2 separate regions of the Homo sapiens genome follow, and region 2 is linked to region 1. The links are contacts of gene promoters, found by promoter capture Hi-C in human tissues and cell types (Jung and others, 2019). All regions are on one chromosome and are shown on one strand. Each heading gives the region's core, a stretch centred on a gene start or on the middle of the fragment in contact. The rest is flanking DNA. Distances are from core to core; before and after follow the strand shown. Region 1 holds the start of ISLR (immunoglobulin superfamily containing leucine rich repeat). Region 2 overlaps CYP11A1 (cytochrome P450 family 11 subfamily A member 1).

The links. Contacts are between HindIII fragments. The study calls those that stand out against the background at their distance.
Region 2: a contact is called between a fragment that was not itself captured here and the fragment with the promoter of ISLR in region 1, in 6 of the 25 tissues and cell types used here (H1 embryonic stem cells, liver, lymphoblastoid cells and 3 more).

Annotation. Positions count from the first base shown.
Region 1 is chr15:74,172,076-74,178,050 of GRCh38, reverse strand. It overlaps ISLR (immunoglobulin superfamily containing leucine rich repeat), which reads right to left and starts at 4,341. Exons shown (of 2, transcript NM_005545.4): 1 at 4,032-4,341; 2 at 1,180-3,200. The coding sequence starts at 3,192. The coding sequence ends at 1,906. RefSeq lists enhancers at 1,007-1,523, 2,631-3,619, 3,620-4,607, 4,608-5,596. The HindIII fragment of the contact is 13,967 bases long and covers 1-5,004 here.
Region 2 is chr15:74,356,636-74,363,094 of GRCh38, reverse strand. All of the region lies in intron 1 of CYP11A1 (cytochrome P450 family 11 subfamily A member 1), which reads left to right. It also overlaps the pseudogene PPIAP46. Among named protein-coding and RNA genes, the nearest start is that of CYP11A1, 7.8 kb to the left of the region's middle. The HindIII fragment of the contact is 5,215 bases long and covers 1-5,015 here.

The sequences.
Region 1 (5,975 bases), core at 3,092-5,591:
TTTATTTTAGATTAGGAGTCATTCTTGATACATGCTGCTGGTGACATCAGCTCAGCAGGAGCTGCAAGTTGATGAGGGGAGAGTGGGCAGGGGGAGGTGCTGTATGTGGACCTGGAGGGAGGGAATGGGGCTGGCCAGCAGCCAAGGCTCACAGCTGCTACCCCAGACTCCTTAGCATCCTGCCTCCACTTTGCTGAGCTCAGCAGTTCTGGGAGCTCTGGAGAAAGGCCACAGAGCCTCTCCCCCAGGCCATTGTCTCTGCATGCAGCATCCTCGATCTTGAAAGGGATGGGATAGAGGCAGTAGGAAGACATATATCCTACCTGGCACAGATAGGAGGTTGTGCAGAGTCTCCAGGTTAGGACCTCATCCTTATGCTCCTCATCTGGAGAGGCTGAAGGTTGCTGTACACACACACACACACATGCACTGGAGAGGCTGAAGGTTGCTGTACACACACACACACGCACCGCTCAGGTTGCTGTACACACACACACACACACACACACACACACACACACACGGCCCAGGCCAGTTACTGATCCACTTGCTCTGTGGGGAAAGATTCCTACAGGGAATCTGCAGTCCTCATTTGGACTTTCCTCTTGGAATACCATTTCTTCTTTGGGAGAAAGATAAGTACGATTTGTTTCCCCCCTGGTTTCTCCCTCAAATATGTAAATATGTTCTCTTATTCCCAGTCTCTCTGGGGCTTTCTCCTCCTCTGTCCTGTGTCCCCTTCTCCTCATCTGTCTCCTCCATCTTGCCCCACCTGTCCCCTCTTTCCTCTTCATTCCTAACATCTCTTCCAGGAGCAGGACAGGGAAGAGGAGCTACCACCCAGGCACTTCCATTTCCTTGCGCCTTTCCAAAATGCCTCTCTTGAAGCCACTGCTGACATCAGGCGCTGCTCAGGGTCGCCAGCCACCCCAGGCTCCTGCCCCCAGCTGTCCTGTGGGATGGTTTGGAGGAAGGGAACATCTGCAGCTCAGCTCACCGCAAGGCCCAGCCCCTGACACAGCATCGGGCCAGCACTCCTGTGCCTCCACAGTCTGTTGGAGTCTCAGAGGCCCCTGCCACTGTGGGCAGGCAGGCTGGCTGCCCTGACTCTTCAGCTCCTGATCCTATCTCCCAGCAGAGGCTCCTAGATCCAGACAAAATTCCAGGCAGACACGGAGGGGCATCAGAAATGCTGTTTATTTCTCTGCTGCTCCCAAGCTGGCTGGCCTTTGCAGAGGAGCAGACAACAGATGCATAGTTGGGGAGAAAGGGAGGACAGGTTCCAGGATAGAGGTTGCAGGCTGAGGGAGGAAGGGTAAGAGGAAGGAAGGCCATCCTGGATCCCCACATTTCAGTCTCAGATGAGGACAAAGGGACTCCCAAGCCCCCAAATCATCAGAAAACAGCAAGGAGCAGGAGGAGCTTGAGCAGGCCCCAGGGAGCCTCAGAGCCATACCAGCCACTGTCTACTTCCCATCCTCCTCTCCCATTCCCTGTCTGCTTCAGACCACCTCCCAGCTAAGCCCCAGCTCCATTCCCCCAATCCTGGCCCTTGCCAGCTTGACAGTCACAGTGCCTGGAATTCCACCACTGAGGCTTCTCCCAGTTGGATTAGGACGTCGCCCCGTTAGCATGCTGCCCCTGAGAGGAGAGCACAGGCAATGCTGTTAGCAGCAATGAGCACCGCAGACAGTGAGTTAGGGGATCAAATTCTATCCTAGTCACTAGTTTGGAGCAGGTCTAGAAGTTGGGGATAGCAGGTGCTCTAGAAGAGATTAGAAGGAGAGGTAGGAAAATGTGAAGTCACCCATGCAGGCCTCAGGAGTTGCCAACCCCAGACCCCTGCAGCACTTAAAGGGGCATTGGTAGGGGCAAGGGGAGGAGTTAGGGAAGCCCTGGGTGGGGCTAGAAGGAGGTGAGGAAGAAGAAGAGGAGGAGGCTTTGGCCCAGCAGGAGCAGGCCTGGGGGCAGCTGCCCAGGGACCCCTTCTGCGACTGCAGCCTCAGGGTTCCCAGCACGGCTGAGGTAGATGATGACCACATTGTCCTCCGGCCCTGATGGCTGCACCTCGTTGTCAACCGTATAGCAGCCCTTTCCCTCAACCGCTTTGCCATGGAACCTGCGCCCCAGTGTGTCCTCACCACCCTCACCGGGCGTGGCCAGTGCCACGTCCACTGAGCTCTCAGCACTGCCCAGCTCATTGGTGGCCAGGCAGCTGTAGGTGCCTTCCTCCAGCTTGCCAAAGTCGGGGATAAGCAGGCTGCCATTGGCAAAGGCCTGGAAGCGCGGCTGGGAGCTGGCCACAGGGGTGCCAGGCAGGGCACGCCCATCAGTGCCCACGTTGGGGCTGGTGATCTCCACAATGCCACTGGGTATCTGGATGTGCCAGTGAAGCTGAGGGGCCGGCTGCCCGTCCACATCACAGTGCAGTGCCAGCACAAAACCAGGCCGCAGCTCGGCACCATCCTGGCTGGGTTGGTAGCTGAGCTGCACTGAGGGCGCCGAGCATGGCAGTGGCGGCAGGCGGCTCAGCGGCGTACCCTTGAGCACATGGGGTGAGGTGCAGGCGATGTTGTCCTGCTCCGGGATGGACACGGCCGTGGTCAGGGCCCATGTCTTGAGCCACACGATGCCGCAGGTGCAGTCGAAGGGGTTCTCGTTGATCTGCAGGTGGGACAGCGCGGTGAGCGGGGTGAAGGTGCCCTCGGCCAATGTGTGCAAGCGGTTGTGGTTGAGTTGCAGCGAGCGCAGAGCACGGAGGCTGCGGAAGGCGTCGCGGGGGATGAAGGTCAGCTCGTTGCTGTCCATCTTGAGCAATTGGAGGGCACTGAGGTTGTGCAGGTCGCTCCAGGCAAAGTCAGAGATGAGATTGTGGCTGAGGTCCAGGCTCTTGAGATGGCTCAGAGAGGCCAGGGCTCCGGCGGCCACCGTGCGGATCTCATTGTGTGCCAGCCACAGCGACTGCAGCAGGGGCACCTCCCTGAAGGCACCCTCCGGCAAGCCTGGCAGCCGGTTGGCTGACAGGCTCAGTGTAGTCACATTGGCCGGGAAGCCAGGCGGCACGGATTCTAGGTCGCGGTAGGCACAGTCGGCGATCTGGAAGCCATACTTTTCCCCACAGTCGCAGGGCTCAGGGCAGGCCTGAGCCAGGCCCAGGAGAAGCGCCCACCAGAGCAGATGCAGCTCCTGCATGGTGCCTCCTGCAGAGAAAGGCATGTCACCCAGGGGATCCCGAGAACCTGCCAAAGGGACTCATTCCTCCCACAAGCCCAGCCAGAGCTCTTTCCCATCAGGAGGCCCTGTCCCACATAACCCAGCTAAATCCCAACACCACCTAGCCCACCGCCCCCATCCTACGGAAGGAGAAACTGAGGCCAAGAGAAGGGCGGAGACTTGCCCGAGGTCACGCAGCCAGGCAGGATGAAGACGGGATGGAAGAGGACCCCAGCTCCTCCTCCGAGTGGAGAGTTCTCCCTGCCTCGGCCTGTTCCTAGCTGACTTTATGACTTGAAATCTGTTTTCCAGCCACCCCCCTCCCCCAGCACTTTGCAGAACCTCCCCCTGCCCTCCCACATCCTGGCCGCAGTCCCTCCCACCGGAGCCCCCCATAGGTATGCTTTGCCTTGGCCCAGACGAGGCCCCTTGTGCAGTGCACACCACCCCCATCCACTCCACCCGCCCTCTCCCGCTCCTCCGGCCATGACCGCAGCAGACACCAGGCCTTTTCTGTGGAATCACACCCGTGGCCTGTTCTGTTCAAACTTAGCCAGGCAGCTGCCTAAATAAACCCCCGCCAGGACCTCTCAGCTGACTTGGGTGAGGCCAGAGGCTCAGCCCAAACGCAGCTGGGATTTCTGGGGCCTCAGTTGTGGGTTGTGGAAGAAGCAGATGCCCCCTGGACGGCTCCAAGCTAGGGATTGTCCCACGCACCTCAGACCAGCAGGGATGGACCAAGAGGGAACCAGCCCCTATGTCCAACAGGCCTCCCGCTCCCGCCGCTGGCCCTGGAGCCCTCCTCCCCACTGGCTTACCTTCAAGCTACTCTTAGTCAAGCGGAGCCTCTTCTAAGGTGGAACCAAAAAGCAACAGAGGACCTTAGCCCTGAGAGTCTGCAGGGCCACGGGCGCCCAAGGGAGGACTTGGATGCTGGGGCGAGGGGCAGCCTGGTCCCACCCCACCTTCGATGTGCAGGCCTGTGCCCTCCCTGCCCCAGACAGGGTGCCTGGAACCATCCACTGAGAGGAGGCGGCAGGGAGGAGCCCGGGGCAGCCCGCGCACTCCCTCCTTCCAGCAAAACAACTGCTTCTCTGCAGCAACAAGGACCTGTGTTTCATAAGTGACACCAGAAACTTGAGGGGGGAAGAGATGCCAAATTTTTTTGGGTTGTGTTTTTTCTCTCTCTCTCACTCACTTTTAGCAGCTTCAACTTCCTTAAAGACACAGCACTGTCTGGAAAGGACCCAAGAAATGATGGGGCCAGGAGGATTTTAGCGGGGGAAGGGCGAGAAATTGAATCTCATGGAAGGTGGGAGATTTCCACTTCAAACAAGAAAAAACGGGAAGCTTTTGTCCAAGCCAGGGTTGTATGTGTGTTGGTGTGTATACGTGTGTGTGTGTGTACAAGTTTGTGGGTGTGAGGGTGCGTATTTCTGGATTTGTATGTGTGTTTGCATGGATGTGGGTATGAAACCATGTACATGAGTTTGTGTGTGAGTGTGTGTGTGTGTCTGTCTTGGTGTGGGTTTGTGTGTGGAAGTGAGTGTGCATCCATGTGTGTGTGTTTCAGTGAAAAGCCAAGAAGGCCAAAGTGTACAAAGCAGATACCAACCCTTCGGTGAAAGCCAAGATGTTAGGCATTTTTTTTTTTTTTAAGAAAACATATCCTGCTGGCTCTGAGACTGAGCTGCGCTAAATGCATGTTGTTGTCCAGGGAGCTCCCAAGACTCCAGGCCCCGCCCCTCACTGCGCTCCCCACTGGCTGGGGAGGAAACAGGGAGGCCTGGCTCAGAAAACTCAGGGCGGGAGCCTGTTGACCTTCAGTGCTCCTGGCTGGGATTCTGAGCCACCCAGGCCCACTGCCCACTGGGCACCCAGAGGGGAGGCCAAGGGGCCGCACTCCCGGAGAGTTCTCTCTGTGTCCCCCACAGGGCCCAAAATCCCACTGTTGGTGCTGGACATCTACGCGGTCAGCATCGGCCTCTCTGAGCTCCACTGTTCCAACACCAACTGTGTGGAAGGGGCAGACGCCTCCAGGGTGAGGATATGTGACCCCTTTTCCAAACGGGAAGGCCCAGGGGAGGGGAATGGGGAAACAAAAGAGGCCCAAAACGAGGGAGCTGGAAGAGAAACCGAAAGATGAAGGAGCCCAGAAAAGAACTTTGTAGACTGAAGAATTTTGCTCTCCACAGACAAGCCTACCGTATCCCCTCAGTAGCCCTCCCCAAGCTTCCTTGGCCTTCCATCTGATAACTGGTTGAATTCTGCTCATGACTCAACTTACCCTCTCAGCAGGGCCAAGGGCAGACAGGGCTCATCTTTGGCTGAAAGCATCCCCAGGAAGCCTGCCCCAGCTCATCACACCCCATTCCCTGTCACCAAGCAAGGCCACAGAAGTCCCCAGCATGCTGCCTGCAAAACACCCGAGTCTGATGCTGAGGATATTATTATGGTCCAATGGAGAGCACCCTCTCTTTCCCCTGCAGAGGAAGCCCTCTCTTGCATCATCCTGACTGTGCTGGAGAATTTCTAGGAAAGTCCTGAATTTGGTGGGCCAACCAGAGGCTGCAAGAAACACATCCAGGGTTCAGTAAACCAGAGGGGAGACTCAGTGACCTCAGTGTCAGTCAGGGAGGGCTTCCTGGTGGAGGGGGCTTCACTATGTTCTGCACAGCCCATACACACACCCTCACCTGCACAAAGTCTGTGCCACCAGCTTTACCTCCAGGGTGCTCTGAGGAGCTCATAGTTCCCACCCC
Region 2 (6,459 bases), core at 1,159-3,658, 190 kb before region 1:
GTAGAATTTGCTATGGAACCTATCATGAGGGATACATTTCTAATCATTGCTTCTTTTACTTTAAACCATGGAAAAAGGACCTAACAAATGATGCCCTTTCAGAAGAGTGAAGGACTTCTGGCAATGTTCTCTTTAACCCACGATGTGGGTTATGTGGAGTGAATCAATTTTTTGTTTTTGATTGATTATGAGCTAACACATCTACCATTAAAGTTTCTTACATACATTGGGCCTTTATCCATGTATAAGGCTGGCTGCAAACTCCTTCACAAATAAAAATGTTCCCCATAAGTGCACATAACAGACCCCTTTTCCACTTCTATTGTTCGTAGAAGGCATAAGCAAGAAAAAATATTCAAAAATAAGAGTTTCATGATAGTAGAAGTCTTAATCTGTGAACTTGGGAAAAGCTGTTCACATCAATGATGTCATCTTCTTCTTGGGAGAAATTTCCCTAGTTAGTTTTACCTTAAGCATTCCAGTGGGTGCACAGCTCCAAGAGCATGGAGGGGCCCTTCTCAGTTGTGAGATTATGAACCCAAAGTTCAAGGTCCTGAAGTTTTGTTATAGTGTAGATGGCAAGGACAGTCTTTCTCTGATGTTTCCAGCAGATTCAAACCATAAAAAGCTTTTTTTTTTAATCTGGTGAAAATACACTGTAGCATAATAATCTACTGTTATAACATCAGCCCTCTTGCATGGGAAAGCTTTTCTACAACCAGAAAACATGCATGGAAAATAACAATGGAATGAAATCCCTTTATAAAATGTTTAAATGGCTGACCAGAAGACCAAATATACCTGAAGCTTTAATTGTTTTCCTAGGAATATGGGATCAAGCATTGGTTATAAACAATTTTTTGTTGTTATTTAGTTTTTATTTCATAATCATAAACTTTAACTCAACTCTGCAGTCCAGCTAGGCATGGAAGGGAACTGCAGCGAGAGCACAAAGATTCTAGGATACTGCGAGCAAATGGGGTGGAGGGTGCTGTCCTGAGCTACAGAAGGAATGGTCTGGTGGTTAAGATAAAACACAAGTCAAACTTATTAGAGTTGTCCACAGTCAGCAATGGTGATCTTCTTCCTGGTCTTGCCATTCCTGGACCCAAAGCGCTCCGTGGCCTCCACAATATTCATGCCTTCTTTCACCTTGCCAAAGACCACATGCTTGCCATCCACCACTCAGTCTTGTCAGTGCAGATGAAAAACTGGGAACCGTTTGTATTGGATCCAGCATTTGCCATGGACAAGATGCCAGGACGTGTATGCCTTAGGATGAAGTTCTCATCATCAAATTTCTCCCCATAGATGGACTTGCCACCAGTGCCATTATGGCATATGAAGTCACCACCCTGACACATAAATCCTGGAATAATTATGTGAAAGCAGGAACCCTTATAACCAAATCCTTCCTCTCCAGTGCTCAGAGCATGAAAGTTTTCTGCTGTTTTTGGAATCTTGTCTGCAAACAGCTCAAAGGAGACGTGACCCAAGGGCTCGCCGTGACTGCGATGTCAAAGAACACGGTGGGGTTGACCATGGCTGATAGTACAGGGCTCCTGGTGGCAGTGACGGCATCTGCAAAGCGACAGGTTATAAACTATTTTAAACAATTTCAGTATTAGCTGGTTTAACATGAAAGTCTTTTCTTGATATGTAATTAATTTTTTGTTGTTGTTGTTTTACGTGGGTTAGTAGCTTTATACAAGAAAATTTGGTCATTTTTGTGGTTTACAATAACTTAACATAATTATAATTGTGATTGGTAACATATACTTAGACATTAGAATTTGAGAAATCCCATACAATTTTGGAATATATTATTCACAAAAATATAACCTAAAGAAGATTTAACATCATTTTGTCAATCCCATGTACCTAAACATGTCAAATAATCCTGTTTACCTCTTTTCTGGATGTTTTCAGGGGCCCTCTGATTCATCTAGAAAGCCAGGCATTAGGAAAGACAATTTTGAAACTGAAGTTTGATTTTGGAATTCCAGATTACCGTAAACTATTTATTTTGCCAAAATGATGACTCAGAAATTTTAAAGAAGCAAAAACCTTTTGTAACCTTCCACACACACAAAAAAACCCCCAACACTTTCTACTGTTCTTATACACCTTGCATGTAAAACTGTTTCTAGTAGTCTTAATTGCATGTTATAATGGCAAATTTGTTTTTTTTGAGACAGAGTTTCACTCTTGTTGCCCAGGCTGGAGTGCAATGGCATGATCTCGGCTCACTTCAACCTCTGCCTCCTGAGTTCAAATGATTCTCCTGCCTCAGCCTCCCCAGTAGCTGGGATTACAGGCAGGCACCACCTTGCCCAGCTAATTTTGTATTTTTACTAGAGATGGGGGTTTCACCATGTTGGTCAGGCTGGTCTTGAACTCCTGACCTTAGGTGATCCACCTGCCTCGGCCTCCCCAAATGCTGGGATTACAGGTGCGAGGCACTGTGACTGGCCTATAATGGCGAATTTTAACATAAAACCTGGTAAGTTAGGCCAGGCGCGGTGGCTCACTCCTGTAATCCCAGCACTTTGGGAGGCCGAGGCGGGTGGATCATGAGGTCAGGAGTTCAAGACCAGCCTAGCCAAGATGGTAAAACCCCATCTCTACTAAAAATAATAATAAAAAATTAGCCAGGTGTGGTGGCGGGCGTCTGTAATTCCAGCTACTCAGGAGGCTAGGGCAGAGAATTGCTTGAATCTGGGAGATGGAGATTGTGGGTGAGCCGAGATTGCGCCACTGCACTCCAGCCTGGGGGACAGAGTGAGACTCTGTCAAAACAAAAACAAAAACAAAAAAAACTGGTAAGTTCTGATAAAGTTTCTGATAAGGTTTGACTACTTCCAGCACAGCTAGGGGCATGGCTAACTCCACGTGTCCCCAGGCCTTACCTAGCTGGAAAGCAGGCAAGTTAAACAATTTTCAAAAGCCAAAGGAGTAGCTTATGATGTTAAAGGATTTAGCAAACCTAGTATTTGAACATAATGTACACCACATGTTTACATTTTGAAGACAACTGTATTTTTCCAATAATCTTGAAAACTGTCTTTATTTCCCAACTATTGCTAAAGTCACATGAACTAAAAGGCATTACACTTTCTACTTTTCTGACAAAATATTTGACTTAAGCTTTTATTATTATTAAACCAATTAATTTAAAATCTTACAGAGGAGATATACGTGACTTCTACTTTATATTTAACCAGTTTGCATAGAGGGAAAGAGCCCAGAGACTGACTCATAAGAAATTCTTATCCTTTCACCGGCATGCCAGATTTCAGGGTTCTCTCTTTCACGCGTGTCCCTGTGAAGAGACCACTGAACAGGCTTTGTGTGAGCAATAAAGCTTTTTAATCACCTGGGTGCAGGTGGGCTAAGTCCGTAAAGAGAGTCAGCGAAGGGAGATAGGGGTGGGGCCGTTTTATAGGATTTGGGTAGGTCATGGAAAATTACAGTCAAAGGGGTTGTTCTTTGGCAGGCACGGGCAGGGGACACAAGGTGCTCAGTGGGGGAGCTTTTGAGCCAGGATGAGCCAGGAGAAGGAATTTCACAAGGTAATGTCATCAGTTAAGGCAGGAACAGGCCGTTTTCACTTCTTTTGTGATCCTTCAGTTACTTCAGGCCATCTGGGTGCATACGTGCAGGTCACAGGGGACATGATGGCTTAGCTTGGGCTCAGAGGCCTGATATTCCTGTCTTCTTATATTAGTAAGAAAAATAACATAAAATAGTGTTGAAGTGTTGGGGCAGCAAAAATTTTGGGGGTGGTATGGAGAGATAATGGGCAATGTTTCTCAGGGCTGCTTCAAGCAGGATTAAGGGCAGTGTGGGAACCTAGAGTGGGAGAGATTAAGCCAAAGGAAGATTTTGTGGTAAGGGGTGATATTGTGGGGTTGTTAAAAGGAGCATTTGTCATGTAGAATGATTGGTGATGGCCTGGATGCAATTTTGTATGAACTGAAAAACTAAATGGAAGACACAAGGTCTGAATAAGAGAAGGAGAAAAACAGGTATTAAAGGACTAAGAATTGGGAGGACCCAGGACATCCGATTAGAGAGTGCCCAAGGGGATTCAGTGTAATTACTTGTTTGGTTGGTGAGTTTTTGGGCTCTATTCTTGACAGAGTCCTTTTTTTAAGTTGGAGGCTGAGTTTGGTGAGGTGTGTTTTTAAAAGACCATTAGTCCGTTTTACCTTTCCTGAAGATTGAAGACGGTAAGGGGTATGAAGGTTTCACTGAATACCAAGAGCCTGAGAAACTGCTTGAGTGATTTGACTAATAAAGGCTGGTCTGTTATCAGACTGTATAGAGGTAGGAAGGCCAAACCGAGGAATTATGTCTGACAGAAGGGAAGAAATGATCGTGGTGGCCTTTTCAGACCCTACGGGAAAGGTCTCTACCCAACCGGTGAACGTGTCTACCTAGACCAAGAGGTATTTTAGTTTCCTGACTTGGGGCATGTGAGTAAAGTCAATTTGCCAGTCCTGGGCAGAGGCAAATCCCTGAGCTTGATGTGTAGGGAAGGGAGGGTCCTGAGGAGTAGTAGACTAGCAGATGGAACCCTGAGAAGTGATTTCCTTGTGGATAGATTTCCATGATGGAAAGGAAATGAGAGGTTCTAAGAGGTGGGCTAGTGGCTTGTAACCTACATGGAAGAGGTTATGAAATGACGACAGAATAGAATGGGCCTGTGAGGCTGGAAGGAGATATTTTCCTTGGTCTAAGAACCATTTGCCTTGTGTGGGAAGAGATTGATAGGTGGAAGTTTTAGTAGGGGAGTAGGTGGGAGTGACCGATGAGAAGGAGAAAAACTGGCTGTGAGGGATAGAAGTTGGAATGCTAGCTGCTTTTTAGCTACCTTATCAGCATAAGCATTGCCCAGAGCAATGGGATCTGATGCCTTTTGATGGCCCTTGCAGTGAATGACTCCAGCTTCCTTTGGAAGTAAAGCGGCCTTGAGAAGAGTTTTTATTAAAGAGGCATTAAGATGGAGGACCCTTGTGTAGTGAGGAGACCTCTTTCAGCCCATACAACAGCATGGTGGTGCAGGATATGGAAGGCATCTTTAGAGTCAGTATAAATATTGACGTGTAATTCATTTGCAAGGGTTAGGGCTCCAGTTAAGGCAATGAGTTCAGCTTGCTGAGAGGTAGTGGAGCGGGGCAGAAAGTATATGCATCAGGTGTGAGGAAGAAAATAGATTTTGGAAGTTATGAGAACTGGAGAGAGTGAGTTGAGCACAGTTTGTGATTTTGAGGGCCTCTAAAAGTATTAAAGCAGCGACAGCTGCCGTACACAGACATGAGGGCTAGGCTAAAACAGTAAGGTCAAGTTGTTTGGATAGAAAGGCTGCCGGGCGCGGTCCTGGCTCTTGTGTAAGAATTCTGACCGCACAGCCCTGCACTTCAGCTGTGTGTAATGAAAAAGGGTTGGATGAGTTAGAGAGAGCTAGTGTGGGAGCAGCTTCTAGGGCTGTTTTTAAGGAACAGAAAGAGGAGTGGCGAAAGAATTTAGGATCTATGGGATCAGCTAAGTTTGCATTTTTAAGTTTATATAATGGTTTAGTCAGGATGGTAAAACTAGGTATCCAAAGGTGGAGTATCTAACCATGCCTAGGAAGGAAAGGCATTGTTGCTTTGTAGAAGGGGTTAGGGTTTGTGAGATTAGCTGGACGTGATCAGCAGGGAGAGCATGTGTGTTTTCATGAAGAATTATGTTGAGATAGGTAATGGATGAGGAAGAAATTGGGGTTCACTGAAGTAATGGGGCCTGTCCGTGAAGACTTGCAGCAGTACAGCCCAGGTAATTTGCTGAGCCTGATGGGTGTCAGGGTCAGTCCAAGTGAAAGTGAAGAGAGGCTGGGATGAAGGGTGCAAAGGAATAGTAGAGAAAGCATGTTTGAGATCCAGAACAGAATAATGGGTTGTGGAGGGAGGTATGGAGGATAGGAGCATATATGAGTTTGGCACCATGGGGTGGATAGGCAAAACAATTTGGTTGATAAGGCACAGATCCTGCACTAACCTGTAAGACCTGTCTGGTTTTTGAACAGGTAAAATGGGGGAATTATAAGGAGAGATTATAGGCTTTAAAAGGCCATGCTGTAACAGGCAAGTGATAACAGGCTTTAATCTTTTTAAAGCATGCTGTGGGATAGGATATTAGCATTGAACAGGGTAAGGGTGATTAGGTTTTAATGGGATGGTAAGGGGTGCATGATCAGTCACCAAGGAGGGAGTAGACATGTCCCATATGTGTGGATTAAGGTGGGGAGATACAAGGGGAGGATGTGAAGGAGGCTTTAAACTGGGGAAAAGGGTGGCAATAAGGTGTGGCTGTAGCCCAGGAATAGTCAGGGAAGCAGATAATTTAGTTAAAATGTCTTGACCTAATAAGGGAACTGGGCAGGTGGGGATAACTAAAAAGGAGTGCATAAAAGAA